Regions from separate parts of the Homo sapiens genome. Here all the other regions are linked to region 1. The links are contacts of gene promoters, found by promoter capture Hi-C in blood cells and fetal thymus (Javierre and others, 2016). All regions are on one chromosome and are shown on one strand. Each heading gives the region's core, a stretch centred on a gene start or on the middle of the fragment in contact. The rest is flanking DNA. Distances are from core to core; before and after follow the strand shown. Region 1 holds the start of TOMM20 (translocase of outer mitochondrial membrane 20). Region 2 holds the start of LINC02768 (long intergenic non-protein coding RNA 2768). Region 3 has its middle 3.4 kb from the start of COA6. Region 4 overlaps TARBP1 (tRNA guanosine 2 -O-methyltransferase TARBP1). Region 5 overlaps TARBP1 (tRNA guanosine 2 -O-methyltransferase TARBP1). Region 6 overlaps TARBP1 (tRNA guanosine 2 -O-methyltransferase TARBP1). Region 7 overlaps LYST (lysosomal trafficking regulator).

What was found. The method cuts DNA at HindIII sites, captures the fragments that hold promoters and counts their contacts. A CHiCAGO score of 5 or more calls a contact.
Region 2: a fragment that was not itself captured here is called in contact with the fragment with the promoter of TOMM20 in region 1 in 1 of 17 cell types (fetal thymus); the score reaches 5.4 in fetal thymus.
Region 3: a fragment that was not itself captured here is called in contact with the fragment with the promoter of TOMM20 in region 1 in 2 of 17 cell types (neutrophils and erythroblasts); the score reaches 9.4 in neutrophils.
Region 4: a contact is called between a fragment that was not itself captured here and the fragment with the promoter of TOMM20 in region 1, in 4 of 17 cell types (neutrophils, erythroblasts, naive CD4 T cells and 1 more). The highest score is 11.1, in neutrophils.
Region 5: a contact is called between a fragment that was not itself captured here and the fragment with the promoter of TOMM20 in region 1, in 4 of 17 cell types (erythroblasts, M1 macrophages, M2 macrophages and 1 more). The highest score is 7.4, in erythroblasts.
Region 6: a fragment that was not itself captured here is called in contact with the fragment with the promoter of TOMM20 in region 1 in 5 of 17 cell types (total CD4 T cells, erythroblasts, naive CD8 T cells and 2 more); the score reaches 8.4 in total CD4 T cells.
Region 7: a contact is called between a fragment that was not itself captured here and the fragment with the promoter of TOMM20 in region 1, in 1 of 17 cell types (monocytes). The highest score is 6.0, in monocytes.

The regions. Positions count from the first base shown.
Region 1 is chr1:235,126,561-235,130,697 of GRCh38, forward strand. TOMM20 (translocase of outer mitochondrial membrane 20) reads right to left here and starts at 2,277. Exons shown (of 5, transcript NM_014765.3): 1 at 2,035-2,277. The coding sequence starts at 2,155. It overlaps SNORA14B (small nucleolar RNA, H/ACA box 14B), which reads right to left and starts at 1,377; the gene lies at 1,243-1,377. It overlaps LOC105379283 (a long non-coding RNA gene), which reads right to left and starts at 1,641. Exons shown (of 2, transcript XR_949295.4): 1 at 1,069-1,641; 2 at 359-409. RefSeq lists enhancers at 2,005-2,224, 2,455-2,554. The HindIII fragment of the contact is 4,902 bases long and covers 343-4,137 here.
Region 2 is chr1:235,969,501-235,973,637 of GRCh38, forward strand. It overlaps LINC02768 (long intergenic non-protein coding RNA 2768), which reads right to left and starts at 3,011. Exons shown (of 3, transcript NR_183724.1): 1 at 2,261-3,011. RefSeq lists an enhancer at 2,550-2,599. The HindIII fragment of the contact is 718 bases long and covers 1,815-2,532 here.
Region 3 is chr1:234,367,971-234,372,107 of GRCh38, forward strand. No RefSeq gene overlaps it. Among named protein-coding and RNA genes, the nearest start is that of COA6, 3.4 kb to the right of the region's middle. The HindIII fragment of the contact is 994 bases long and covers 1,286-2,279 here.
Region 4 is chr1:234,404,643-234,408,779 of GRCh38, forward strand. It overlaps TARBP1 (tRNA guanosine 2 -O-methyltransferase TARBP1), which reads right to left. Exons shown (of 30, transcript NM_005646.4): 24 at 1,261-1,457. Among named protein-coding and RNA genes, the nearest start is that of COA6-AS1, 33 kb to the left of the region's middle. The HindIII fragment of the contact is 6,487 bases long and covers 1-4,137 here.
Region 5 is chr1:234,439,210-234,443,346 of GRCh38, forward strand. The region is part of intron 12 of TARBP1 (tRNA guanosine 2 -O-methyltransferase TARBP1); the gene reads right to left. Among named protein-coding and RNA genes, the nearest start is that of TARBP1, 38 kb to the right of the region's middle. The HindIII fragment of the contact is 2,642 bases long and covers 920-3,561 here.
Region 6 is chr1:234,454,982-234,459,118 of GRCh38, forward strand. TARBP1 (tRNA guanosine 2 -O-methyltransferase TARBP1) reads right to left here. Exons shown (of 30, transcript NM_005646.4): 9 at 2,686-2,775. Among named protein-coding and RNA genes, the nearest start is that of TARBP1, 22 kb to the right of the region's middle. The HindIII fragment of the contact is 1,435 bases long and covers 2,167-3,601 here.
Region 7 is chr1:235,786,142-235,790,278 of GRCh38, forward strand. LYST (lysosomal trafficking regulator) reads right to left here. Exons shown (of 53, transcript NM_000081.4): 13 at 2,560-2,704; 14 at 1,059-1,232. Among named protein-coding and RNA genes, the nearest start is that of MIR1537, 65 kb to the right of the region's middle. The HindIII fragment of the contact is 1,173 bases long and covers 1,840-3,012 here.

The DNA.
Region 1 (4,137 bases), core at 1,027-3,526:
TTGGGAGGCTGAGACGGGCAGATCATGAAGTCAGGAGTTCGAGACCAACCTGGCCAATATGGTGAAACCCTGTCTCTACTAAAAATACAAAAATTAGCCTGGCATGGTGGTGTGCGCCTGTAATCCCAGCTACTCAGGAGGCTGAGGCAGAATTGCTTGAACCCGGGAGGCGGAGGTTGCAATGATCCGAGATCACCCCACTGCACTCGAGCCTGGGCGACAGAGCGAGACTCAAACAAACAAACAACAACAACAAAAAATCTCTAGCATTCATCAATTACCATGTGTGAGGAACAGGACTAAAACTCTACACTATACCATTTTACAAAAAGGGAAAACTAAAGCTTGAAGTTACTTGCCTAAAGTTACTGCTGCAGCTAAGTAATTCACTGTAATCATTAGGTTGCCGCTAAATCCAGAAAAAACAATTTTAGATTGAAAATGATGGAGAAGTTATTTTGAAATAACATTCCTCCATTTGTCTAAAATGATAGCTCTTGTTTCTGCAACAGGACTTCAGGGTTTCCAACGGAAGATAGGGTTAATCCATTCTTTATAACTCTGCATTTGTACCAAAGCCCCCAGCTGTCACCCATTTTGGCAACTACAGGACAATAACCCGAAGGCAGAATGACCACCAGCATTTATGGAGGAGCATTTCCTATGTCAGAAAACGTGGAAGGCAATTCAAACATCTCAACCTTCACAAGATCAACAAGAGGTAGGTGGCATTACCTGATTTTACAACTACAGAAATTAGGATTCAGAAACCCCAAATTATGCCGCTAACCTGGCCCTAGAAATTCAAGGTCTGAATGTAAAACAGTATTCTATTAGTCTGCCTAGTCATAAATCAAATTATGTCTATATCCCTTCCCTCCTAAAACATAAGAAAGCTGGAACTAGATGTCTGATTCTTAGTGCTAGTAAGATCAGCGCTGCAGTCACTGCTCACACAGGGCTACTGAACACTTGAAATGACTTAGTATAGCTGAATTAAACCGTAACCACTGTTACTTAAGTAAACAATAATCCCTTCTTTGTACCCCTTGGGCTTTAGTAACTTACGTATCAATTTTAATTCCAAAAACTAATTTGGCTGAACAACCAAGATAAGCCAAAAAATATTTCTTATTGCAACAAATTTGCTCTTCAATGATGCGAATGAAGATTCTCCGAAAATTCAAGGTGGATCACAACGGTTTTCATGACACGATTCCCCTCTGGTAGACCTCTCTTAAAAGATGTCGCAGGTATGAAATAAGACTGAGCCACGGGAGAAGCGCAGCCCTTTGGACTCCCCTGCAATTTCTATAGCATTCACTCATATCTTGGAAGCACTTAGAACGAAGCTACCAAGAGGGTTTAAGAATGCAGCAATGAGCCAGGCGGATCATCTGAGGTCAGGAGTTCGAGACTAGCCTGACCAACACGGTGAAACCCCGTCTCTACTAAACACAAAAAATCACCGGGCGTGGTGACGCCCGACTGTAATCCCAGCTACTGGGGAGACTGAGGCAGGAGAAGCGCTTGAACTCGGGAGGCGGAGGTTGCAGTGAGCCGAGATCGCGCCACTGCACTACAGCCTGGGCGACAGAGCGAGATTCCGTCTCAAAAAAAAGAATGCAACAATGATACTGCACTGAGCATGCGGATTTAGCCTCAGACTAAAATTTGCGACAAAAATGCACGACTTTTTAGTTAAGAGTAGAGGTTTAAAAAGATGAACGACAAAAAAAGAGACAACCTCCTCCCCAGGCCACACACACCCGAGATTGCAACAGAAATCAAGAGTGCATTTGCACGGCTAAAGTGTCTGGGGAAAACAAAACGGGAAAAATCCTTCCTCCAAAATGGAATTCCTACGGGGCACTAGAGCCCCCGGAGCGGCGCAGCCAGCGCCATCGCCTATTGAGGGCCGCACCACGCGGTCGCCCTGCGCGGCCCACAGGCTGGTGGGAGGCAATGACCCCTCCTGTGAAGGGCGGCGGCCGAAGGCAGCAAGCCTGGCCAGGGGAGAGAGGACCCACTCACGTTCTCGAAGCCTGTTCTTGAAGTTGGGGTCACTTCGTCTTTTGCGGTCGAAGTAGATGCAGTACCCAATGAAAAGGGCCCCGCATACACCGGCGGCGATGGCGCTGTTCCGACCCACCATCTTCTCTACAACGCTGAGCGTGGACGGTGGCGGCAGGGACCGCGAAGGAGCGGTGGGCCACGAACCCTCAGAGCGGTCGGCGCAGCTCACACCCGACGGCCGCGGGCCAGGAACACAGAAAGGCCGAGCACACGCCACTTCCGGTCCCAGTCAACTAAGGGCCTCGAGGTCGTCCGCGGCAGAGCCTGAGCAGAGGCCCAGAGCGCGGCTCCTGCGCCTGCGCAGTGGGCGAAGCCGGCGTTTCCCCTGCGCCGCTGGGTGTACGCACTGGAGTCGGGAATTTGCACGTGACCACGGACTTTTTTTCATATCCGCCGACCATGCTGTAACGAGGCGTACGCGTTACTGGCGTGCACGTACTCAGAAGACTAGCTGACAGCCTTGTTTGTGGCAGACAGAGATGCAGGGTCCCAGACTGCGAATGCTTCATCTTGTCTAACACAGGCAGCCTGTGACTTGTTTGAATTAAACTGTACTTTCTTTTCAGGTTGCCACAATCCATTGTGCGTAGTGGTTCCATTTCAAAAGAATGTTACAGGATAGCCTCATTTTATGATAACTGGAATAAAATTAAATGGAGTAATTTCTTGAAAAATATACACAATTGAAGAAAAAATAGAAAACGTGAATTGTTTTATAGCCACACGAAAACATACACATGATCAGGCCAGGCGCGGTGGCTCACGCCTGTAATCTCAACACTTTGGGAGGCCGAGGCAGGCGGATCACTTAAGGCCAGGAGTTTGAGACCAGCCTGGCCAACATAGTGAAACCCTGTCTCTACTAAAAATACAAAAATTAGCTGGCCATGGTGGCCGGGGCCTGTAATCCCAGCTACTCTGGAGGCTGAGGCGGGAGAATCGCTTGAACCAGGAGGCAGAGGTTGCAGTGAGCCAAGATCGAGCCACTGCACTCCAGCCTGAGTGACAGATCAGGAGTCCGTCTCAAAAAAACAAAATATATATATATATGATCTAACTTAAGATATTGACAAGGAAAATCGTGGGCAGAAAGCAGGCATTAAACAGACACTGTAAGTTGAGGGGTATCGAAGTCAAGCATCAGTGTCAAGAGACATTGGAACCAGAGCTACCTTACCTTGAATAGGGGCTGGGTAAAATGAGGCTGAGACCTATTGGGGCACATTCCCAGGAAGTTTGGCATTCTTGGTCACAGGATATTTACAGGGAAGGGAACAAGTTAATAATGTTTACCTAACAGACCCAGGAAATGTCCTGATGTCCTGATATCTTAAGAACAAAAGCATTCTTAGTTTAATTTTCCCTTTAAAGATAATATTGATCCTTGCAGAAGACAGTAGTTACACAGGATTAACAGTCCTTTGACAAAGACCAGGCAGTGTCTCACACCTGTAATCCCAGCACTTTGGGAGGCCCAGATGGGCGGATAGCTTGAGCCCAAGAGTTCAACACCAGCCTGGGCAACATGGTGAGACCCTGTCTCCACAAAAAAATTAAAAACTTAGCCAGGCGTGGTGGCACACACCTGTGGTCCCAACTACATGGGGAATGATGCGGAAGTATCCCTTAATCCCAGGAGGTTGAGGCTGCAGTTGAGTTATGATTGTACCACTGCAGTCCAAACTGGGTGACAGGGTAAGACCTCGTCTCAAAACAAACACACAAAAAATCCTTTGTCACAAGCTCTTGGAGTAGAGCTCATCTTCCTCATTTTTTTGCTGTTCAATACAAACAAGCCTTGTACCTAAGGTGGACATGTTCCTTCTCTTGCTTTAGGGTATGCACCATTCTACAAAGTAACCTTTCACTTTTTTTTTTTTTTTTTTTTTTTTTTGAGACAGTCTTGCTGTCACCCAGGCTGGAGTGCAGTGGCATGATCTTGGCTCACTATAACCTCCACCTCCTGGGTTCAAGCGATTCTCCTGCCTCAGCCTCCCCAGTAGCTCGGATTACAGGCATGTGCCACCACACCCAGCAAATTTTTGTATTTTTAGTAGAGAT
Region 2 (4,137 bases), core at 924-3,423, 840 kb after region 1:
TAACCAGCACTTTTTGAGAGGTTGAGGCTGGCAGATCATGAGGTCAGGAGTTCAAGACCAGCCTGGCCAACATGGTGAAACCCCATCTCTACTAAAAATACAAAACTTAGCCAGGTGTGGTGGCACATGCCTGTAATCCCAGCTGCTGGAGAGGCTGAGGCAGGAGAATAGCTTGAACCCAGGAGACAGAGGTTGCAGTGAGCCAAGATTGCAGTGAGCCAAGATCACGCCATTGCACTCCAGCCTGGGCAACAGAGCAAAACCCTGTCTCAAAAAAACAAACAAACAAACAAACAACAACAACAACAACAAACCCTTGGGGAATATTATTTGCAAAATAGACAACAAAAGGTTAATTAGCTTTAAAATGTAAAGGACACTTATAAATCAGTGAGATTCTCCCAATTAGAAAAAAGAACTGAGGACTAGAAGGACAATTGACAAAAGAACTTTAAGTGGCTAGTGTGCATTTCAAAAGTTTACCGCAACTTAAAGAGTGTAATTTTTTTTCTTTTTAGAGACTGAGCCTCAGTATGTTGCCCAGGATGGGCCTCAAACTCCTAGCTTCAAGCAGTCCTCCCATGTTGGCCTCCCAAAGTGCTGGGATTACAGGCGTGAGTCACTGCAACCAGCCAATAATGTAAATTTTAATAAACAAACACCACCTATGTAATTGGCAAAAATGAAAAAATAAACTATGCAAAGGCAAAAACATAGGTAAACGGGCCCTCTCCAACACTCCCGCTGGTGGAAGTATAAAGTGGTACAAACTTTCTGTAAGGCAGTTGGGGAGTATCTATTGAAAGTCTTAAATTTTTAAATAATCCTGAGTTGAAATTTATCCTAAAGATATTAATAAGGACACTGAGGGTCGGGCGTGGTGGCTCATGCCTGTAATCCCAGCACTTTGGGAGGCCGAGGCGGGTGAATCATGAGGTCAGGAGATTGAGACCATCCTGGATAACATGGTGAAACCACATCCCTACTACAAATATAAAAAATTAGCTGGGCATGGTGGCACATGCCTGTGGTCGCAGCTGCTCGGGAGGCTGAGGCAGGAGAATTGTTGAACCCGGGAGGCGGAGGTTGCAGTGAGCTGAGATTGCACCACTGCACTCCAGCCTGGGCAACAGAGCGTGACTCTCAAAAAAAAAAAAAAAAAAAAAAAAAGGACACTGATATTAGTATGTGGGTGTTTATTGGTTTATTGTTATTTATCACATCAAAAAACACATAGAAACACCCTAAAAGTTCATCAATAAATGAACTGGTGAGAGTTTATTGTCCATATAATAGAGTATGATACTATTATGTAGTTGATCAAAGTAATGTTCATATGCACATTTATTTAAATGGAAAACAAAAATACGGAAAAGTATCACAGGATCACATTTTTTGTTATATATATATCTTACAAAAATATATGTAAAAGTATTGTGTGTGTGTGTTTACAACATTTCTGGACAAGATTGTAGTGATGAGGCCATTATTGAGTAATGAAATTACTGTTATTTGTTTTTCTTGTGCCTTTATTTTCCAACTTTCTAAATGAAAATGTGCTGAATACAAATAAATAATAATGTAAGATAAAGTAAAAATAAATTTTCATTTAAGGTATTTCTTAAAAAGGGGGGTGAGGAAGGGTATTTAGAGTAAACCAAATCTGGAACTGGACTCTGCTCTGACGGCGTGACCTTTGCCAAGTTACTTCACCTCCTTAACCCTCAGTTTCCTGACTTACTCAATGGGCACAATAAATTCTACTACATAAGGTTATCCTGAGTTAGTTTTCCCATTTCCATCCAGCTAATAAAAGCTTCTTGCTGCACTCTCTCTCCTGAGCCTTCTCCCTTCTCTGATCCCCTTAACAAAGTGGTTCGAAGCAATCATTTAGCATCACCTGTTATTACTACCTGCTTAGTGACTAGACGCCCACTTATTTGCAAAAGCCCTGCATTTTCTGGAATTAGCCTGCTATTCCGTGTTTTCCACTTAGATTCACTCAGAACCTGGTCCATAAGGAGACGTATGCACTTTTGCATACACAGAATACACTCAGGAATACTTCTGTGTTTTCGTACCTCGGTGTAAGATGCTGAGCCCACGGCTGGGGATCTCGTGTGACGAATGTCTGCAAATGTTTGAGTAAGGAGATGACTTGGGGAGGAAAAGGGCTGGGCTATTTGGTGGAAATCTGAATTTAGATGAAGAGGCTTGACCATAATTGGGAAGTTCTTTTGCTAGCAGTTGGGCAACTCACCAATATGAAGAAAGCTCTTGAGTGGGACGATGGGAAGGCCCGAGCATAGCTTCTTTTGGGGAAGTTATCCGGGTAGCCAGGCCTGGGACGCTCCCCGCGCTCCGCCCTCACTTCTCTCTTCCCCCAAAAACAGGCATTGAGAGGCTCTTACTGCCCTCACGTGGCCCCTTCTGGAACTGTCTTTGAGGAGACCCGCCCAGATTTAAACTGAATCACGGGGGCTGGAGAGCACACACGCAGGCTTGCCAGTTAAGCTCATCTGTCCCCACTTAAGCTTCTAGCTACCAGGAAGCCGCTCTTCGAGCCTGTTTTCAAGCCTTTTTGGCCCTTCCGTCTCTTAAGTCCATGTTGTCTGAGCAAAGACCCTTTCTCCGTTGTAAGGAATTCTAAATCCTTTCGGCTGCAGCTTTCAGCAGCGCCTGGCATCCTGGCGGATGAGAAAAAGGGGAAAAACAGCAGCCCAACTTGAGAACCAGAGCTGGGCCGTGACGCTGCTGCGGGGGACTCTGGGTCCCGTCTTCCCCGCTTTCGAGACCTGTGGTCTTCAAATGTGCTCGATAGTACACTCCCTAAAAGAATTTTTGCAAAGTCCTGTTTTTCCCTGTTAAATCAAGTTTAGCTTAAAGCTACTCACATATTTTAAGTTCAGCCTAAAGGTTTCTCTGTGCCTGTAACCTAAAGGGAAGTGTAAATAGTCCCTCTCCCCCTTCACCCTCTCCTCTCCCGCTTTCTGTTTCTGCCTTATCTCTCTGACTCTTCTGCCTCCCTCCTCTGTTTTTAAGGGCCTGCCTGGATAACCCAGGATAATTTGCCTGTTTTAACGTCAGCTACTTAGTCATCTAAATTCCATCTGCAAAGTCCCTTCAGAGCAGTACAAAATTAGAATCTTGAAATCTTTAGAATTCGGCCAGCCACAACAACGATCAGCATTTTGCCAACCTTAGGTATCCAGGAGTTTTTGTTTTTAATTACAGTGATTTTTAAAAAACAGCTTATTTATTTATTTGACAGGGTCTTGCTCTGTGGCCCAGGCTGGAGTGCAGCGGCATGATCATAGCTCACTGTAACCTCAAACTCCCGGGCTCAAGCAATCCTCCTGCCTCAGCCTCCTGAGTAGCTAGGACTACAGGCACTTGCCACTACACCCGGCTAATTTTTAAAAGATTTTGTAGAGATGGGGGTCTCACTATATTGCCCAGGCTGGTCTCAAATTACTGGCCTCAAGTTGTCCTCCTGCCTCAGCCTCCTAAAGTGCTGAGATTACAGATGTGAGCCACTGTGCCCACCCAAAACAGCTTTATTGAGATATAATTCACATGCTATGTAATTCACCCAAAGTGTACCTGCAATGGTTTTGGGTATATTACATTATTAATTTTAAAAATTGTAAAATATGTATATATCATGAAATTTGCCATGTTAATAATTTTTTTTTTTGAGACAGAATCTTGCTCTGTTGCCAGGCTGGAGTGCAATGGCACGATCTCAGCTCACTGCAACCTCCGCCTCCCGGGTTCAAGCGATTCCTCTACCTCAGCCTCCTGAGTAGCTGGGACTACAGGTGCGCACCACCGCACCCGGCTAATTTTTTACATTTTAGTAGAGACGGGGTTTCACCATGTTGGCGAGGATGGTCTTGATCTCCTGACCTTGTGATCCGCCCGTCTTGGCCTCCCAAAGTGCTGGGATTACAGGCGTGAGCCACCGTGCCCAGCCATTAATAATTCTTAAGTGTACAAGTCACTGACATTTATTACATTCGCAATATTGTGCAACCATCACCACTATTTCCAATACTTTTCATTTTCCCAGGTAAGAATTCTGTAGCCATCGAGCAATAACTCTCCATTCCACCTCCCCACAGCCCCCGGTAACCT
Region 3 (4,137 bases), core at 533-3,032, 760 kb before region 1:
GGGACTACAGGCACCCGCCACCACGCCTGGCTAATTTTTTGTATTTTTAGTAGAGACGGGGTTTCACCCTGTTAACCAGGATGGTCTCAATCTCCTGACCTCATGATCCACCCGCCTCGGCCTCCCAAAGTACTGGGATTACAGGCATGGGCCACTGGCCTCTTATTTGTCTTTATCCCCAAGGCCAACCATGGAGGCTGGCACTGCACAGATGCATAATGTCTGTGAAATGGATTGGCTATGTAAATACAGAGCAGGGAGCATAAAAGAGAACTGGAAGGCTTCTAACGGGAAGACAAAGGACTTGTGGAACTGATGAAAAAGAACAGCTTAAGAAGAGCAGCGCTTCTAGAGAGAAAATATCGAGTCCAGTTCTGAACGTCTTGGAATGATGGAAAGATAAACAAGTGAAGATATCCAATAGGGATGTGGAACAAGAAAACTGTCACAAAGGTTCTTTTAAGGACCAAAACATAGTCTTGCAAGTCTTTGTGACAGAAGTGCTAACTGAAACTATCAGAGTGAATTGACTCACCAACTAAAACAATGCAGAGAGAGAGAGAGGAGAGCAAGAGAGAGAGAGAAATGAAGGGACAGCATCTTGGCGTATACCTATAGTTAAGGGGGTTGAGGAAGGCAAGGAGACAGCACAGAGATCTAGAAGAAATTCAGAAGATCGCTGTAGCAACACTGAAGTCAAGGGAATCGTTCTCCGGTCTGTGCCCGTGAGTAGGTGTCTGTGATAACTGCTTTGTAACAGTACAGATTATAAATAAAAGTCTGTGGGCAGCAACAGAAAAACAACACATACATTTTCAGTGCGACTGGGTCTGTCTGGCCCTGCCCACCAGTGGTTTGGGGATCTACTTCGTTCCGACTAGAGAGCACCCACTCAAAATTTCCTCTGGATGGCAACCCAGCACAACACGTCTTCCACCTCTTCACACTGACTCCTCCTCGCCTCCTCTCTCCTCCAAACATAGGCTGGGTGATTACACCCTCTTTGTGTCAAAACAGCACACTTGAAATCATTTTATGGCACCCACATTGTTCCATTTTAATCTTTAAGATTTTGTAAGGTGAAATGGTCTTTGCAATTGTTATCCTGTGTTAATTTTCTTTTTCTTATTGACACCACAAAATTCCTCTCTTCTAGTTTGTTTTTGCTCTGTTAGTAAAACCAGCATTTCCCAACTGGCGAACTAGACTTCTTCAGGGGTAAGGTGGGGAATGTTATTGCAACTCACTACATCTCTCTGGTAATATCTTCCTTGTCTATCCCTTAAGCTTACCACAGACCACTAGGAATTGCTTAGGTGCACGGTGGCATTTAGCACTAGAGACCACTAACTTTTGACCTCGAAGAGCACTTAAGATACTAAATTCATTAAAAATTTAGTAATAACACTACAAATATTCTGTGTGACCACTATTTTTACCTTTCTGTAAATCAAATTTATTAAAGATGACCTTCCTCAGGTCAATTACTCATTTTATTTGTTTAGAAATTGTGAGATATACATTCCTATGGAAAAGTGAATAAAACATATATGTACAGTTTATTTAAAGAATAATTATAAAGCGAACACTCAGGTCCATAAATAAAACATTCTCCGCATCCCAGGAGCCCCACCATGTGCCCCTCCCTGATCATATCTCCTTTCTTACCCTAGAGAGGAACATTTGTGATAATCATTTCTTAGCTTTTCTGTATAGTTTTACTACTTATGACTGTTATTTTAAACAATATAGTAGAGTTCTGCCCGTTTTTGAACTTTATGTAAGTGGAAATATTCTGTATTCATTGGTTGTCTCAGTATGGCAATTCACCATGTTATTGTAAATAATCGTTTGTTTCTCTTTGTTGCTGTATTATATTTCACAGTATGACTATACCATAATTTATCCATTCTATTGTTGATACAAGTTTGAGTTGCATAATGGTTTCAGCTATTAAAAAAATGCATATGTACAGGAAATTCTGTAGAGTTGCTGAGTCACAGTGAATGTGTATCTTCAATCTTACTAGATAATTCAATCTTACTAGATAATGCCACACTGTTTTCCCTGATTGTATCAACTTATGCTACCACAGTGTATGAGGATATTCCTTGCTTCTTCCTTAAAACTTGTTTCTGTCAGACTTTTAAATTATTTTTTGATCTGCTGGGTGTCTAATAGTACTGCATTGTTATTTTCATGTTCCTTTCTATAGTTACTAATGGGAATGTTGGTCCTTTCATGTATTAGTCATTTGCATTTGGTGCTGTGCCTATTTAAGCTTTTTGCCCATTTTCAAAATGGGCAAGTCTATTTCTTATTGATTTGTGTTATTTGTATATTCTGGATACTAATCCTTTTTCACTTGCTTCATGGTATTGTTTGGTAAACAAAAGTCCATTACTTTTATGTAGCCCAATATTTTTATGTATGTAACACATCTTTTTTTTTTTTTTTTTTTTTTTTTTTTTGACGAAGTCTCTCCCTGTTACCCAGGCTGGAGTGCAATGGCATGATCTCAGCTCACTGCAACCTCCGCCTCCTGAGTTCAAGCAATTCTCCTGCATCAGCCTCCTGAGTAGCTGGGATTACAGGCACACACCACCATATCCGGCTAATTTTTTGTATCTTTATTAGAGACGGGGTTTCACCATGTTGGCCAGGCTGGTCTCGAACTCCTTACCTCATGATCCGTCTGCCTCAGCCTCCCAAAGTGCTGGGACTACAGGCGTGAGCCACCGCACCCGGCCACATCATTTGATAATTACTGAGACTTTCCTTTATGGCTAAAAATTCCTCTTAACCTAAGTCATAAAGATTTTTTCTTATATAGGTCCACATAACTCACCTGAAATCCCTGGAGCCAGATGTTTGAAATATAGACTATTTTAAATATTAGAAGGGTAGTATGAAACATACAACATATATTGTATAATATTCTCAACAAGAACTGGGACAGTACCCATAATGAAATACATTAATATTTCTACCGAAAAGCATATGCAGTCACCTAAGTGATAATAACAACTATAAAGAGCCTCATGTTACTTTAAGTCGTATTTTTCACCAAATGAGTTCCAAAGTGTGTGGTGTTTCAGAGGTTTGGGGATTTTATAATTAGTACAAAAGTTATGGTAGCCTTATTCAGTAAGAATGGAATGATTTCAAAGTTTGTAGGAACTTACTGGTGGAGCCACGTACCTGGGATTTGTGTGTATGAAGATTCTTCACTACTCATTCAAATTATGTAATAGTTTCTCTACTTTTGAGTTGTTTTTCTTGAAGTTTGTACAGTCATCTAAATCTTATTTGCACTAAATTGTTTACAAGATTATCTAACTTTTTTGATGTCTATAGTATTTCTAGTTTCCATTCTTGATAAAGATTGTTGACATCCCTCCTTTTATAGCTATTAGATGTTTGCCAATTTTAATTTTTCTTTTCCAAAAAAAATCAACTTTTGGCTTCTTTCAACCTATTCTATGCTGTGGTGTGCTAGTGAGTTAGCTCCAAACATAAAATCCTGGCTTGTTGATTTCCATAGTGTAAACAGTCCCATCATGGTTGACTTCAAGCTACTTATTTGAATTGGCTCCAAACATAAAACAAAATCCTGGCTTGTTTGTTGAGTTCCATAGTGTAAACAGTCCCATCGTGGGTGACTTCAAGCTACTTATTTGATGTTATTGATCATGGAGTTGCCAAGAGGTGTGCACAATTGGCTCTCCTATGCCAGTACAGGCTGGCTCTGGTACACCACTGCTTTTATTTTCCATTTCGTTAATTTCTGCTCTTAACATTATTTCTGTCCTTCTATTTTCTGTCTTATTTTGCTGTCCTTTTTCTAACTTCTTGAAAAGGGATTTTCAGCTCAAGACTTTTCAGACTCTTCTAATACACTTACTTATGGCTATAAATGTCCCTGTAAGTGCTGCTTCAGTTTCATCCCACAGGTGTTGCTATTGTTATTTTATGGTTCAGTTCAAAATATTTTCTCAATACCATTGACTCTGTCTCTGTGTTATTCAGGCTTGTTTTTACAGTTCTTTATTGATTTCTATCTTAAATGCACTGTAGTAAAAAATGACAATTATTTCAATTTTCAAAATTTCTTGAGTTGCTTTATAACTAAGTATG
Region 4 (4,137 bases), core at 581-3,080, 720 kb before region 1:
AGCCTTTGCTGGGCCAGGCACAGGAAGGTCATTCTCCAGTATACAGAACTGTGCACGATGTACCAGGAATCCATTCCCGCCTCTGCTCTCTGTCCCTCCTCTGGAACCCATCTCCCCACAGCTAACTCTCTTTTTCTCCTGCTACTCCCCTGTTTTATTTCATGCTATTTACTTTTTTCTCCATTTTAGTATTTATTTGTATTTATCAAATATCTTTCTCCCAAGCCCCTAAAACCTCCCTTACCCACTTAATGCCCAAATGCCTCTTTTCAACAAATGCATCAAAAGTGAAGGGAGGTAGAAAGGTACATTGCGGGCCAGGGAGGTACCCTCGCCCCAGCCCCATATGAAGCTACACAATGACTCAGTCTTATTTGTACCATGTACAAATAACTTAATGGTCACGACCAAGACTTCTACATGTTACTGGTTTTCCAAATGCTATTTCATTTGCCTATTATGCTGCTTCCAACACTTAACCATTTGTGTATATAAATTAGTGGGTGCTTTTTCAGCTTTTAAGATGAAAAATCTTTTATGTTGGTTGATATTGCCTGTGTCTCTAAAATTTAAAAAAAAAATCCAGAATTCCTGGATGGCAATAATCTATGATAATAATAAAAAGGCAAAACAGCACCACCTCAGAGATAAGGAAACAAGCGCAGAGACCTGGAGATGCTTATGACACTGCAGCCTGCTTCTGCACCGTGACAGGTGCGGGGAAAGAGAGGCAGACATGGGAACCACCGTGGGGGCTTCACAGACACTGGGTCCTGCACCGCTCCCTCACCCCATCCACGTCACTTGCTTGATACTGAGCTTCCATGTATGATTTTGTCTGCGGAATAGGAGAGTTCTCTTAGAAAAGAAAAAAGCCTTTAGCTATAACTAGTATAGCTGAGAGATTAAAAGTATGTCTTTAAAGTCAGGTCGTGCCACTTCTAAGCAGTTCTCAAACAACAAAGGATGACATTTAGCTATACTGAAGAGAAACAGGTACAAGTATGTAGAAGATTATTTGTACAATAAAGGATTGAGGATAAAAGGGCAATAAGAGGTCAAGGTGGAGCTGACAATGAACTGTAATTAACTACACCCCAAAGTGAGCTGCTTAGGCCTGGCCCAGTCCAAGCCCTCGATGCTCCAGGACGGCAGCATGAGGATGTGGAAGGAGAAGCTGACACAGTATGGGCACTGCCCCCTCCCTGTGGGCCCTGCTGGAGGAGAGTGAGGGCGATGAGGTTGACGAGGGCTCCTTACCCTGCTCCGTGCATGCTTTCCACTTGATGGAGGCTGGATTCAATCACAGGAGTCAGGGCATCAAATTCTTCAACACTTAACACTTTACACACAGTCCAGAGTTTCTTAAGAGCAACTAAAGCATACAGTCGAACACTAAAATTGTGATTGAAACACCACTGCAGCACAACTATAAGGGCTTGCTTCAGAATTAGTTTCTGAAAAGAAAGGCAAAAAATTCCTCAAAACACAGACATGGACCATTTTACTCTCACTTGTATGACACAAAAAAAGTACACGAATGATACAACTGCTCCTAGTAAAACTTCTTCCACTGGCTTTGCTACCAGGGCCTCTCATTCTTCCCTCCTGGTCAAATGCGGTGCACAGGCATTTGCAATTTACTCAAGGAAAAACACATTCTCCCAGCTCTAGTTTTCATTAATGCTGCAGTACATTTCCCCCCGCCCCCCATACTCTAGTACCTGAGTTAACTTGAAAAAAGTATGTTTTATGCTAACCATTATACAACCAAAATGTTTTTCAAATGGAGCCTCCATCTCCTATTATCTTAATTTGTGCTGAGAAAGTCAGAAATAGTCTTCAAGAGTCCCACTTCTGATGGCTTGAAAATGCTCCTAGAGCAAGATACCACACAAAGTGCTGTCCTCCTCCTCACTACTGATTTCTGAGCTACTCTGTCTTCCCTAATGGTGATCCTGGACCCACACAGTACTGAGTAGTGGCAGGAAAATTAAGAAATGAGGGGGAAAATAATAAAACTGTTTAAATTTCCTTGTAGTCTTTTCCTGTGAACTTTAGTCTTCACAGCCTGGAGATGTCAAGCAATCCCTTGCTTTCTAAAATCACATGGTTCAACAGACACTGAAGGTCAAAGGAAGTGACATATACTAATGAAGGAACCAGACGGACCCAAACTTTTAATGAAATATCAGAAGCTATTTTGATGCTCCTACCAAATGCACTTCTCCCCTAAGGCTCACATGGAAATGCTTACCGGCTGCGCCTGGCAGCCCAGTTTCTACTGACCAATTCAAAACAACCATATTCACACAATAGTTTACCAAAGGCATCAGCATGGCTGATAACACACTTGTTACTCTAAGTTTCTCTGAGAAGGATAAAAACAGAGATAAACAATCCTCTTTCTCTCATTCCTTTACTCAACATGTCATCAACATTTATCAAAGGTCAGTGACTGTACTGCCAACATTACAAGGTGTGATGTTATGATATACACTGGTTTTTGTCCACAATTCCTGTCTTATAACTCCCATAGCCCTTGTTACAGTCTTTTGTTATAACGATCCCATATGGAAGGAAGTCACTTGTGCAGCCCACACTGAAGGAGTGAGAAGTCACGCTCCCCCTCCCTCAGGGCAGAGCTTCTATAAAAATTACTTGTAATTTTTTTTACAAGAGATTTGTCTTGTCCATCCTTTTTTTTTTTTTTGAGATGGAGTCTCACTCTGTCGCCTAGGCTGGAGTGCAGTCCTGCAATCTTGGCTCATTGCAATTTCTGCCTCCCGGGTTCAAGTGATTCTCCTGCCTCACCTCCTGAGTAGCTGGGATTATAGGCATGTACCACCATGCCTGGCTAATTTTTGTATTTTTAGTAGAGACGGGGTTTCACCATGTTGGCCAGGCTGGTCTCGAACTCCTGACCTCAAGTGATCCACCCGCCTTGGCCTCCCAAAGTGCAGGATTACAGGCATGAGCCACAGTGCCTGGACTCATTTATTGATTCAATCATTTATTTATATCGGTGTGGGCTCGAGGATATTTATTTTATTCTTTGGGTTGTGATCCAACACTGCTTTATTTTGTTGCTCACACTGTTTCAGCTTCAGCCACTGGGAACATCTTCCCTCTGCATGCCCATCTCACATCACTGTATGTATAAAGTTCTGCCTTGCTCTCTGACTCTACAAGATGCTCCAGGCTCATCTTGTATACTTTCTGCCCTAGTTTTAGAATCAGCTATTTCTCCAGCGATCCCTGGTTCGTTTTATTGGAGAATGGTGTTAGCAACCAAGATCTTGGAGCTAGGTATACATTACTCGTAAATGAAAAAAACCCACTATAATTCTCAATAGGGAAAACAGTGCTTCCTATGGAGCCCACACTCAAAAATGTTGGCACTGCCAGTGATCGCTCGGCTGGGGCTTTCAGGACGTAAATGATGCTTTCATACATATCAGTGTAAAAAGCTCTGCTCGTGAATTCTCATGTCCGCTCATTTTACACAATGAGCAAGCTGACAGGACAATACACAACTATGAGCATAATTAAGAAAGGTTTTTTTTTTTTTTCCTTTTATAGGAACACTTCGTGCTCTGATTCTGAAACCGCCTTTGCAAAATTGTAACTGAGGTGGGGAAAGAGATCTGACCTAACCAACTCCATCTTGCTTCTAACCTCCAAGCTGTCCTTGTTCATTCCTGGGTGTAGGCTCAACTAACTTTGGGAGAAACTTAGTTTAGTTTATAGTTTAAAACAAAGATGATAACAGCCCTTTCCCAAGACAAACCCCCTTCTTGTCTGGGGACTAGATTTCCTTTGTAGGACTAACAAATTAGCCTCAAGATTAGAAATTATGGTTCAGGAGTCATGTAGCTGGAAGCTACAAGATTCTGACCCTCCCTAAACTGCTCCTATGTCGGTGCTCGAGATATTTTGCAGACCTGCACTCGACGGATCAGCTGGCACCACCCAGATCGATTAACTGGCTCATCTGATCTCGTGGCCCCCACCCTGGAACTGACTTAGCACAAAAGGACACCTCAATTCCTTATGATTTCATCTCCGACCCAACCAATCAACACCCTTGACTCACTGGCCTTCCCCCTCCCACCAAATTATCCTTAAAAACTCTGA
Region 5 (4,137 bases), core at 991-3,490, 690 kb before region 1:
TCTAAGTAAATATAACAGGCCCTTTTCTCTTGAGTTCTTTAAAATTTGTTTGTTGGTTAAAAGCAAAAATTATAACATTGTCTTGTAGGCTTTTCAACAAATGTAAATATAAGACAACTACCATAGACAGGGGAAAGGGGGAAGGGCCCTATCAGAAGGGAAGTTTCTATATTCACTTCAAGTGGTAAATATTAATTCCAAAGAGACTGTACAAAGTATATGTACTGCAATCCTAAGGCAACCACACACACACAAAAAAAGGCTGAATTTAAATGGAATACTAAATAATGTTCAAACTGCCCAAAAGAGAGTAAAGAGAGAAATGAAAAACAAAGGCCCAGTGTGGTGGCTCATGCCTGTAATCTTAGCACTTTGGGAGGCCAAGGTGGTTGAATCACCTGAGGTCAAGAGTTCGAGACTAACATGGCCAACATGGTGAAACCTCATTTCTACTAAAAATACAAAAATTAGCCAGGCATGATGGTGGGCACCTGTAATCCCAGCTACTCGGTAAACTGAGGCAGGAGAATCGCTTGAACCCGGGAGGCAGAGGTTGCAGTGAGCCAAGATCACACCATTGCACTCCAGCCTGGGCAACAGAGATTTCAAAGTTCCTCTCTCAGTAATAGATACAAGGAATAAATAGAAAATCAGCAAGGATATGGAACTAAAAAACACCATGAAAACTCTTGGATATAACTGACATTTATTGAACACGTCAGCCACTAGTAAAATAATATTCTTTTCCAGAGTACATGAAACATTCACCAAGATAGGCCATATCCCACATAAACTTAAAACAATTTTAAAAACTGAAATCATATGATATATGCTCTGCGACCACAATGTAATTAAATTAGAAAGCAGTAACTAGGAAAGTCTCCAAAGATGTTCTAAATAATTCATGGGTCAAAGAGAAAGCTTCAAGGAAAGTTAGAAAATATTTTGAGATGAAAATGCAACATGCCAAAATTTGTGGGATATAGTTAAAGCAACACTTGGAGGAAAATTAATAGCACTGTCATTTCAGAAAACAAGAAACGTCTAAAATCAACAATCTATGTTTCTGCCTTAACACTAAAAGGAAAAAAAGGCAAAATAAACCAAACCCAAGCAGAAAGAACCAAACAACAGAAATCAATGAAATTGACCAAAAAAAAAAATCTATAAAAAAAAAATCAATGAAACCAAAAGCTGGTTCTTTGAAAAGGTCAATAAAATGATAAACCACTAGCAAGCCAGAGACAGAGACAGAGAGAGAGTGCACATGAGTAAGCACGCACACACACACACACAAATTATCACTATTAGGAATAAAAAGACAGAGCTTACACTACAGACCCGACAGGCATTAAAAGGGTAAGGGAATACTACAGACAATTCTACTGCCCCTATTCACAGATGACATGATTATCTACAAAGAAAATCCCAAGGAACCTTCAAACAAACCAACTCCTAGAATTACGTCCTTCAGCAAGGTTACAGGATACAAGGTCAGCATACCAAAATCAATCATATTTCTATATACTAGTAACACACAGTTAAAAATTGAAATTTTAAAACTATCATTTACAACAGCTTCCCCTCAAAAGAAATAGTTATAAATCTTACAAAACCTGTGTAAGATCTATACGCTGAAAACTGTAAAACTGATGAAAAAAATCACAGACAACCTAAGTAAATGCAGAGACAGGCCAGGCGTGGTGGCTCATACCTGTAATCCCAGCACTCTGGGAGGCTTAGGTGGGCAGATCGCCTGAGGTCAGGAGTTTGAGACCAGCCTGGACAACACGGCAAAACCCCATCTCTACTAAAAATACAAAGATTAACCAGGCATGGTGGTGAGCACCTGCAGTCCCAGCTACTTGGGGGGCTGAGGCAGCAGGATTGCTTGAACATGGGAGGTAGAGGCTGCAGTGAGCTGAGATTGCACCACTGTACTCCAGCCTGGGTGACAAAGTAAGATCCTGTCTCTAAATAAATAAATGTAAGGAAATACCATATTCATGCATTAAAAGTTTCAGCATAAGAAAGCAATTCTCCACAAACTGATCTATGCATTTAATGCAATTCCAGTCAAGATCCCAGCAGGACTTTTTTTTTGTAGGTACATATAAGTTGATGATATAATTTATATGGAAAGGTAAAGGAACTAGAATAGCTAAAAATATTTTTGGACAAAAACCACACTACCTATTTTAAGACTTATTATAAAACTACAGTAACCAAAACCTTGTGGTATTGGCAAAGGAATAAACACTTAGATCAAAAGAACAGAATAGAGTCCAGAATTACATCAACACAAATACAGCCAAATTAATTATTTGTCAACAATTTTTTGGGATAGAATTCACAGAGCATTCAATTCCCCCATTAAAGGTATCTAATTCAATAGTTTCTCGTACAGTCACAGATATGTGCAACTATCACCACAATCAATATTAGAACATTTCATCACCTCAAAGAGAAACCTCATACCCTTTAAATCATCGGGCCCTTAACCCCTATTTTCTCCCTGCCCTAAGCAACCCCAATCTATTTTCTGTCTCTAGAGATTTGCCTATTCCGGACATTTCATTTAAATGAGATCATATAATATGTGGTCTTTAGTGATCACCTTTCCCTTAAGATAATGTTTTCAAGGTTTATCCACGTTGTAACATGTATTACTACTTCATTCCTTTTTATGGCTGAGTATGTATAAACCACATATTATCCATTCATCTACCCATCTACTTTGGATTGTTTCCATCACAGCCAATTAATTTTTGACAAAAGTACAAAACAATTCAACAGAGAAAGGATACTCAGTCTCTCCAACAAATGGTGCTGGTGCAACTACACCAGCAAAGGCAAAAAAAACTAACCTTGACCTAAACCTTACACCTTAGAAATTAACCCTAAAAATATCATAAGTCTAAAAGTAAAATAATAAACGAAGGAGAAAAATCCTGTACGACCTGGGGCTAAGGCAGAGTTCTCAGTCGTAATACCTACTGCACGATCCATAAAACAAAACAAAAATAAACTGGATTTCATCAGAATAAAAACTTTGGCTCTGCAAAAGACACTGTTGAGAAAATGAAAAGATAAGCTGCAGACAAAAAGAAAATATGTGCAAACCACATATCTGACAAAGGACTAACTTGGCAGAAGATTTAATAGACACTTCATAAAATGCTGTATCTATCACTCTGAGAAGTGTTCATTAAGAGATTACATACATTAAAAATTAATTTTAAATTTTCATGTTACCCAGGGGCTATATTATATAGCCTCTGGAGTATCTCATGAGTCACTTGCCAGGTCAAGAAGCCACCAGCAAATGATTGGAAAGTAAAAGCCTTTATTAAAAAATTAAAAACTATAACCAATGAATATGGGAAAAACAGAATACTCTTGTCTTGCATATTCCATACTACTCTTTCTGCCTTTTCTTTCTCCTATATATATAGTCAACTCCTTAAATATCAAACTTACATTAATAGCATAAAATAGATTTACTTTCCTCATATATAATCAAACCCATTCAATTAAAATAAATTTGAGATTTCAAGGGAAAGCTTAGGCCTTGGAGAAGAGAGAACAAAAAGACTTGAAGAAAAGTAGCTGCCTTCAAGGTATCCAATATTATCATCCCTACCCCAGTGGCTCCTCTTAATTACCGCAATACAGAACAGCCTCTATCTCACCCTCAAGGCACATTCCCTGGTCACTGCCACATCTCTGAATTTAACACCCTGTCACAATATACAAACTGTGGGCAAAAGTTCAAGCCAGAATAAAAATTATGGTTTGGGGCTGGGCACAATGGCTCATGCCTGTAATCCTAGCACTTTGGGAGGTCGAGGCAGGCGGATCAGCTAAGGTTGGGAGTTTGAGACCAGCCTGACCAACATGCAGAAACCCTGTTTCTAATAAAAATACAAAATTAGCCAGGCATGGTGGTGCATGCCTGTAATCTCAGCTACTCGGGAGGCTGAGGCAGGACAATCACTTGAACCCGGGAGGCAAAGGTTGCGGTGAGCCAAGATCGCACCATTGCACTCCAGCCTGGGAAACAAGAGCGAAACTCCGTCTCAAAAAAAAAAAAAAAAAATTATGGTTTGGTTTCCTAGTCTATGCCTCATATAATGT
Region 6 (4,137 bases), core at 1,634-4,133, 670 kb before region 1:
ATGAAGACGAAGCAGAGATCTCGAAATGCCAGGCTGCTGGTTTTGAAGATGGAGAAAGGACCATGAGCCGAGAAATGCAAGCAATACAGCTCCAGAAGATGAGGAAGTGGACTCGCCCCTACAAGGAAGCACAAGCCAGCCAGAATCTTAATTGCAGACGAGTGAAACGGATTCCAGACTTCTGGCCTCCAGAACTGTAAGGGAATAAATGTATGTTATTTTAAGCCACCAATCTGGTGGTAATTTATTACAGCAACCATAGGAAACTATGGAGGGAAACTGGGCAATCCCCAGAAAGATTACACAGGCACCCAACCTCTGACCAGCAATCCCAATTCTAGGACTCCATTCTGCAGATGTACCTGCAGACTATTCATTTATTGTGGCATTGTCTGTAAAAGCCACAAGACTGGACAACTCAACAGTTCGGCAATGGGGGAAATTGAATAAACAATGGTACAACCACCAGATGGAATACTATGCAAGCTTTACTTTACAAAATACTATGCAAGCTTTACTTTACAAAAAAAGACTAAGAAGGGTCTTTGCCTACTGAGATAAAGAAATCACTATGAATATACATTTTAATGAAAACTTGCAAGGTAGTAAGCAGAGTCTATATCAAAAACACCTTTGTTTGGGGATGGGGTGGAGTACGATAAGGATCAAGGCAAGATAGAAGAGCAAAACAGAAATAAGACACTTCTGACCAATAGTTTTAATCTTCAAATCACGTAAATTCATTACCCATTCAGCAAGCAAAGCTAAATTTTTTAAAAAGGAACTAAAAAAAAATTATTTGCAGTAGGTATAACAACTTGTCAATACCCTCAATATAAAAAGAGCACTTACAAATCAAGTAAAAAAGAAAAAAAAACCACTAAAATCCCAAAACAAAATGGGGAAAGGACAATAATAGACAATTCACAAAAGAAATACTACAAAGACATGAAAAAATGTTTTAAAAAACAGTGATCAGAGTAATGCAAATAAAGTCACCAAATGCTATGTTTTATCTACCAAAGTGGCAAAGAATTTAACATGCTGATACATTTGGTATTGTATCACTGTAGATAAAGTGGATGTCCACTGTCATACTTTGAAACCTCTCTCAATCTGTATCAGGAACCTTAAAATTATTGAAATACAGCAAATTCAATTTTATGAATTTATCCTAAAAAACAGGTATAAATAAAAACATATAGAAATAAGTTCCTCCCAATGTTATTTACTTTTTGAGACAGGGTCTCACTCTGTCGTGCACGCTGGAGTGCAGTGGCACGATCTCAGCTCACTGCAACCTCCGCCTCCCGGATTCAAGCAATTCTCCTGTCTCAGCCTCCCAAGTAGCTGAGACTACAGGCACACACCACCATGCCCCGATAATTTTTGTACTTTTAGTAGAGACGGGGTTTCGCCATGCTGGCCAGGCTGGTCTCGAACTCCTGGCCTCAAGTGATCTGCCCGCCTCAGCCTCCCAAAGTGCCACTGTGCCCAGCCCAGTGTTATTTATAAAAGCAAAAACTTTGAAACAAAGTCCAAGAAAAGGAACTAATACAATAAATTTTAAATGATACAATCAACTGCATTTTTACTACATCTTGAAAAATTACTTAGCAACATGCTAAAATGCTCATATATATGTGAATACAAAAAAATAAAATTTAAAACAGTTTAATCTATATTTAGAGAGATCATATGTATTATTTTAAATACACATATACTTATCTATAATGAGAAGGCAAGTAAGAGAATACGTATATTCATAGGGAAAAAGAACTAAAAACTAAACCAAAAAATATGAATTTAGTTTGACGGTAGGCATTACAGATTATTTTTATTTTCTTTATATGGTTCTATATTTTTCAAATTCCACAAAATTAGATGCATTGTGATCAAGAAAATAAAACAAAATTCTATTTTTTAAAGGCCACAATTTGCCCCTTCTTCATTTCTCAAAAACTATATAACCCAGAGGGGACAAAGATCAGAACTCAGCCACATAAATAACAAATAAGCACTGAAGTCAGTTGTATAAACTAAACCCCGTGGTTTACAAAAAGAGGGAGGAGGCTGGCCCTGAAGAGTCCTGAGGAAAAGGGTGGCACAGTAAGAGGTCTGGAGGCCAGGGACGTGACATCAACAAGACATCATCACAAGGGAAGAAGCTTCACATGAGGAGGGTCTGAGCTAGAGCCACAGAGCGGCATGGAGAAGAGGAAAGATGTTTATGAGACAGGAGGGTTTCATGATGAATTGGATGCAGAAAGTCAGGACAAACTCAGAATTACCAAAACATAAGGACTGGACAACTGGGTGGAGGAAGGGGCCATTCAATGACAGAAAAAAGAGAAAGAGGAGTTTGTGTCACTTACTGTGTTTGAGTCTAACATCGCCATTATTCCTAATGCATCTCATCCAGAGTTGAGATCTGCCCACTAGCAATATCTTTTCTTCTAAATAGGTCTATCTGTACTGCAAACATTTTCCTCTCTCCCACCTCTCCATAAGCATCTTAGCAGAATTAGTTAAGTCCACTCAAAGCAAATATACAATATTTCAAAGTCTCTGCTGACAGATAACAAAGCAATCATTATATTTTATATAAATGGCTACTAAGAAATTCATTAAGAAAACCATTTTTTATAGTTTTCAAAGACTTTATTAAATTATCTTTAATCTCACCTCTGTCCACAATGAAGTTCCTCGTCCTAAGGATTCCTCTTGTCTCAGAGACATGAGAAAAGTTGAGACATCAGAAAGTGACACTTTCTCCTGGGCAGGGCAGGAAAGGTTTTAAAAATTACTCGTATTAAAATGTTTAATTGAATAAACTAAAACCACTGTGAAGGCAATCAATTCTACTACTTAAAGTAGGTTATCATTAGCTAAATCAAAAGAAAGCAAATATCATTAGCTAAATCAAAAGAAAGCAAATAAAAAGAAAATATTATTCAACTTTTAACATAAAGATACCATGTTAACTTAAAATTGAGGTTACTATCTTAAAGACAGTCACAATCTTAAAAAAAAAAAAAACACCATTCTATAAGAAGAAATTACTTTCAATCAAAATGTGAGGACAGGCGCGGTGGCTCACGCCTGTAATCCCAGCACATTGGGAGCCCGAGGTGGGTGGATCACCTGAGGTCAGGAGTTCGAGACCAGCCTGGCTAATATGGCAAAACCCCATCTCTACTAAAAATACAAAAATTAGCCAGTTGTGGTGGCAGATGCCTGTAATCCCAGCTACTTGGGAGGCTGAGGCAGGAGAATCACTTGAACCTGGGAGGTGGAGGTTGCAGTGAGCCAAGATCGTGCCATTGCACTCTAGTCTGGGAGACAAGAGCAAAACTCTGTCTCAAAAAAAAAAAGTGATTATTTTCAATGCCATAAAAATGAGCCCCTGACTCAGAAAACCACCTAGGTCTTTCATTCCCTTAAGGTTGTACATCTTGAAATAAGATACCTTGGCTCTATCTAGGCCAGGCATTGGCAAAAACTATTCACAGCCTGTTTTGTAAATAGTTTTTTTGGAATATAGCCAACGCCTGTTTATTTAGTTCAGAAGTTGCAACACAGATCATAAAGCCAGCGGCAAAGCTTTAAAAAAGTTTGCTACCTGGCACTGCACAGAAAGAGTTTGCTGACCCCTGTAGTAAGCAATATTTACTGAGGCTTTGTAAAAAGCACAGGATACACACCATATATATTCCTTGAATGTCGATACAGGGGAAGATGAGGGGAAATGTAGAGAGGGAACAAGGCATACGCTCCAAGAGTCCTCTCCCAGTGGGCCACCCAGGACACACTTAGCTCCCCCAGCAACAAGCTGTGACAACACAGTGAAAGTCTGTCTACCAGGGAAGCTCAATGGAGACTCAGTGCCTCGGGCTTTTCCTGGGACGTGGTCATGCAGGCACCTTTTGCCTCATACATACTGAAATTCCAGACTCTCAGAAAGAAAGCAGGTTTTCAGCATAAACCACATTGAACAAACACTTTAGATACAATAAGCCACTCTTAGCAGTTAGGATAGTGTAAATCCTCCCAAAATCCAAGGTCCCAGTGCCAGCCAAGGACTATTTAGAGAGATCATATGTATTATTTTATTACAAGCACATTTATTATTTTATT
Region 7 (4,137 bases), core at 1,176-3,675, 660 kb after region 1:
CTTTGATATATAGTTATACATAAATGTCTAAATTTCTGGGTATCTGCATGCTCCCCAAACCCAAATATTAATTTTCAACAGTCACTTCGACAGGAGGCTTATTTTGCATGAAAATGACCAATAGGAAAAAAAAGTCCAACTCTGACAGATTTGTAAGTTAAAGTATAGTAAATTTTTCAGAGAAATGCAAATCAAAACCACAATGAGATACCATCTCACACCAGTTAGAATGGCAATCATTAAAAAGTCAGCAAACAACAGGTGCTGGAGAGGATGTGGAGAAATAGGAACACTTTTACATTGTTGGTGGGTCTGTAAACTAGTTCAACCATTGTGGAAGACAGTGTGGTGATTCTTCAAGGATCTGGAACTAGAAATACCATTTGACCCAGCCATCCCATTACTGGGTATATACCCAAAGGATTATGAATCATACTGCTATAAAGACACATGCACATGTATGTTTATTGCGGCACTATTCACAATAGCAAAGACTTGGAACCAACCCAAATGTCCATCAATGATAGACTGGATTAAGAAAATGTGGCACATATACACCATGGAATACTATGCAGCCATAAAAAAGGATGAGTTCATGTCCTTTGTACGGACACGGATGAAGCTGGAAATCATCACTCTCAGCAAACGATCGCAAGGACAAAAAACCAAACACCGCATGTTCTCACTCATAGGTGGGAATTGAACAATGAGAACACTTGGACACAGGAAGGGAAACATCACACACTGGGGCCTGTCGTGGGGTGGGGGGAGGGGGGAGGGATAGCATAGGAGATATACCTAATGTAAATGACGAGTTAATGGGTGCAGCACACCAACATGGCACATGTATACATATGTAACAAACCTGCACATTGTGCACATGTACCCTAGAACTTAAAGTACAATAATAATAAAAAAAGAAACAACAAAAAATATAGTAAATTTTATTATAGTAAAAACCTAGAAGTTTCTGTATTCTGTTTCAGAAGCTATAATTGACTAATGAAACATAACATTGTAACTGAGATTGAGATGCATTTTCTCAAAATGCTTCCTACCTCTGTCCAGAGACCCATATGGAGATTTTCCCATGAATCCTCCTTTTCCCTTGGGGCTGCTGTAAGTAGGTGAGTACTAAATGTTGCCATTTGCTTGGGAGGAAAATATTCTCCTGTGATTCAACCTGTGCTAGTAAAACAGCTTTCATGTCATCATTTGAATCCATGCACACACTACAGAAAAAGAGAAAAGGCATAGGCTGAAAACATGAAAATTCTGACCTCAGTGTTTAACATACATATAGTAACTATAATTCTAAATAAGTAAGATTAAAAATCAGTTCTATTTTTTTTAAAGTGCTTGAAAAGTCAGTAGGTCTTCGTTTTATACCATAAGTTACTTAGTTATTCTATCATTACCTCAATTCATGAACTAAAATAGATTAGGCTCATTGGCTGGTAGTCATAATTTAGGCAATAATGTTCAGAATTCAGTTTGTAAAAAAATATATATTATTACTATTTATATAGCCATTGCCCATTTAGAAATTACAATGTATTATTTGGTTCATAGAAAAATTAATATAAATGTCTAAGTATTGGAGGTCTAATCTACTTTGTGGGATTACTGAAAGAATGAGGAGATAATGTACATAAGGCACCTAGTAATGTTTGTAACGTTTACAAAGTATATATTCCTAAATAACATACTGGTTTGTTTAGATTTGAGTTTTAGACAAATAGTATCATACTATTCATACTCAATACAAATAAAAGACCTGTATCTATACTACTTAATAAAGGAGATAGTATAAAAGGACAAGATAACAAGGAGAACCCAAGCTTATTAGGTAATCGCTATTAAATATATAATGCACATGGAAAACTTATGTCTGTTAATAACATCTTAAGACCATTACAATCTGATAGAATATTTCCATAGCATAAGACTTCAGTATTTGATCTAAAATCAAACAGAGAATTAATGTATTTTATTTACTCATTTATTTTTTGTTTTTATTTATTTATTTATTTTTTGAGACAGAGTCTCACTCTGTCACCCAGACTGGAGTGCAGTGGCGCGATCTGGGATCACTACAACCTCTGCCTCCCAGATTCAAGTGATACTCCTGCTTCAGCCTCCCAAGTAGCTGGGACTACAGGCATGCACCATCATGCCTGGCTAATTTTTGTGGTTTTTTGTTTTTTTGTTTTTATTTTTATTTTTTGTAGAGATTGGGTTTCACTATGTTGGCCAGGCTGGTCTCAAACTCCTGACCTCAGGTGATCTGCCTGCCTTGGCCTCCCAAAGTGCTGGGATTACAGGCATGAGCCACCACACCCAGCCGAGAATTAATATATTTTAGACTTTATGGATTTTTGGATAGAATAATACACTATTATAAAAGTGGTATTAATAGCTGTTAGAATGTATATATTTTTAAATGAGACTTTTTGTTTTGCTATAATGAACTTTTATTAGTAGATTTCACATTAATGTCTCTTACACAAATTATTTAAATACATTATCTATTCATGGGAGGCTGAGGATAATCAATACCGAAAGATAAGAGTGGCATTGTGGGGATCAGCCCACACTTGGATCATCAACGCTTTGGATCCCAGTGAAATTATATGAATACATCCTTCTTCTATGAGTCTTTCACCAGGATTTATGTACTCTGCACCTTCTGGTCTGTCGCTCTCTATAAGAAAAAGATGTTAGAATGATCAGTAAAATGGTTCGTAACAACTGAGTAGAAAAGTGAATTTAGAAGAATACAAAGCAAATTTGTTCATTTGTAGTAGGTTATCTACCCAGAATGTCTGAGCCTGACCTGTTCTAAACAACCATATTTTCAGAGTATAGATGTTAACTCCAAAAAAGCACGAGGGATGAAAAATGGTAATTCAGTACTTTAAAAGTTATTAGATATTAAAAAATGTATAATAACTGAGGACAATTGTGGGCGTAACCAGACCGCTATGTGACAACCTATTACAATGTGTACCAAGCTTCTTTTATCAACTATGACTTCACTGACCCTGGTCCAGGGAGCACACATCATTGTCCATGCCTCACACTACCAAAACTCATTCTAGAATTATCACAATATGGCATGATTTAAAAAAAAATATCATATTACAAATTTTAAGGAAAAACTCTAGTGTTTGAATATATTCATAATTTATATTCCCTGGTGAGTAGTTTTTGCATATAATTGCTAAGTGATTCTGAAACTCTAATGTTTCTTTAAGGCAAGCTAGGGTAAATGCTTACAGGCTTGGGCTATCTGGTTATTTATCTTGACTCCTCTTCCTCATCTTTGAAAACCCAGCACTGCCTGAAGATGTATGATGATCTACTTGTCATTATAATACATGTGACTTTATGTAAAGCTATGTTATGATATATCAAAATCCAAAATACATGTCCAAAGGCTCAGACTTTTAAAGAACACTACTGCTTATTAGACTGCATACATATTAGTTGCTATTTTTCAACAGGTAAAACCATGACCGATGTTAAAAAAATACTCCCTGTAGCGATGACAATAGTTTTAAAAAAGAAGAGTTAAGGTCACTGATTATTTTGAGGCTGCTGACCAAGATATATGATATACAGAGAACTCACATCTGATGTGAAATTTTAAAAATGTTCCATACCAAATATGAACTTCTGCAAATAAAAGAGTAGGACAAAACCAGTGTGTACCTAGGAATTATAGAGTAGTAATATTACAAATATTTAACTTAATGCTCACAACCATCTTATAAGGTAAATATATATAGGGTGACAAAATTGAGGTGCTGAGAGGTTAATTTGCCCAAAGGCACCAGTTAGTTTAGAGGTAAAAGGTATGATATCGCAGCAAAATATTCTTTATCTCTCTTCAAAACTTTTTATATATGTCTACTATTTTTAAGTGTTTATACAAAATCATCTTTCTAAAATATGTTTTCTAATATATCCTTAAAATAAAAATTAAGAAAAAACTTTCCAATATTTACTTTTCTCAGGTCACTATGTATATTTATTCATTTTATAAGAGACTGTTTACATTGAGATTGCCTCCATTAAAACATGAGAAAGCAATCTGCATAGCTTATAGTATAGTAGCAATGTTAAGGCTCTGGA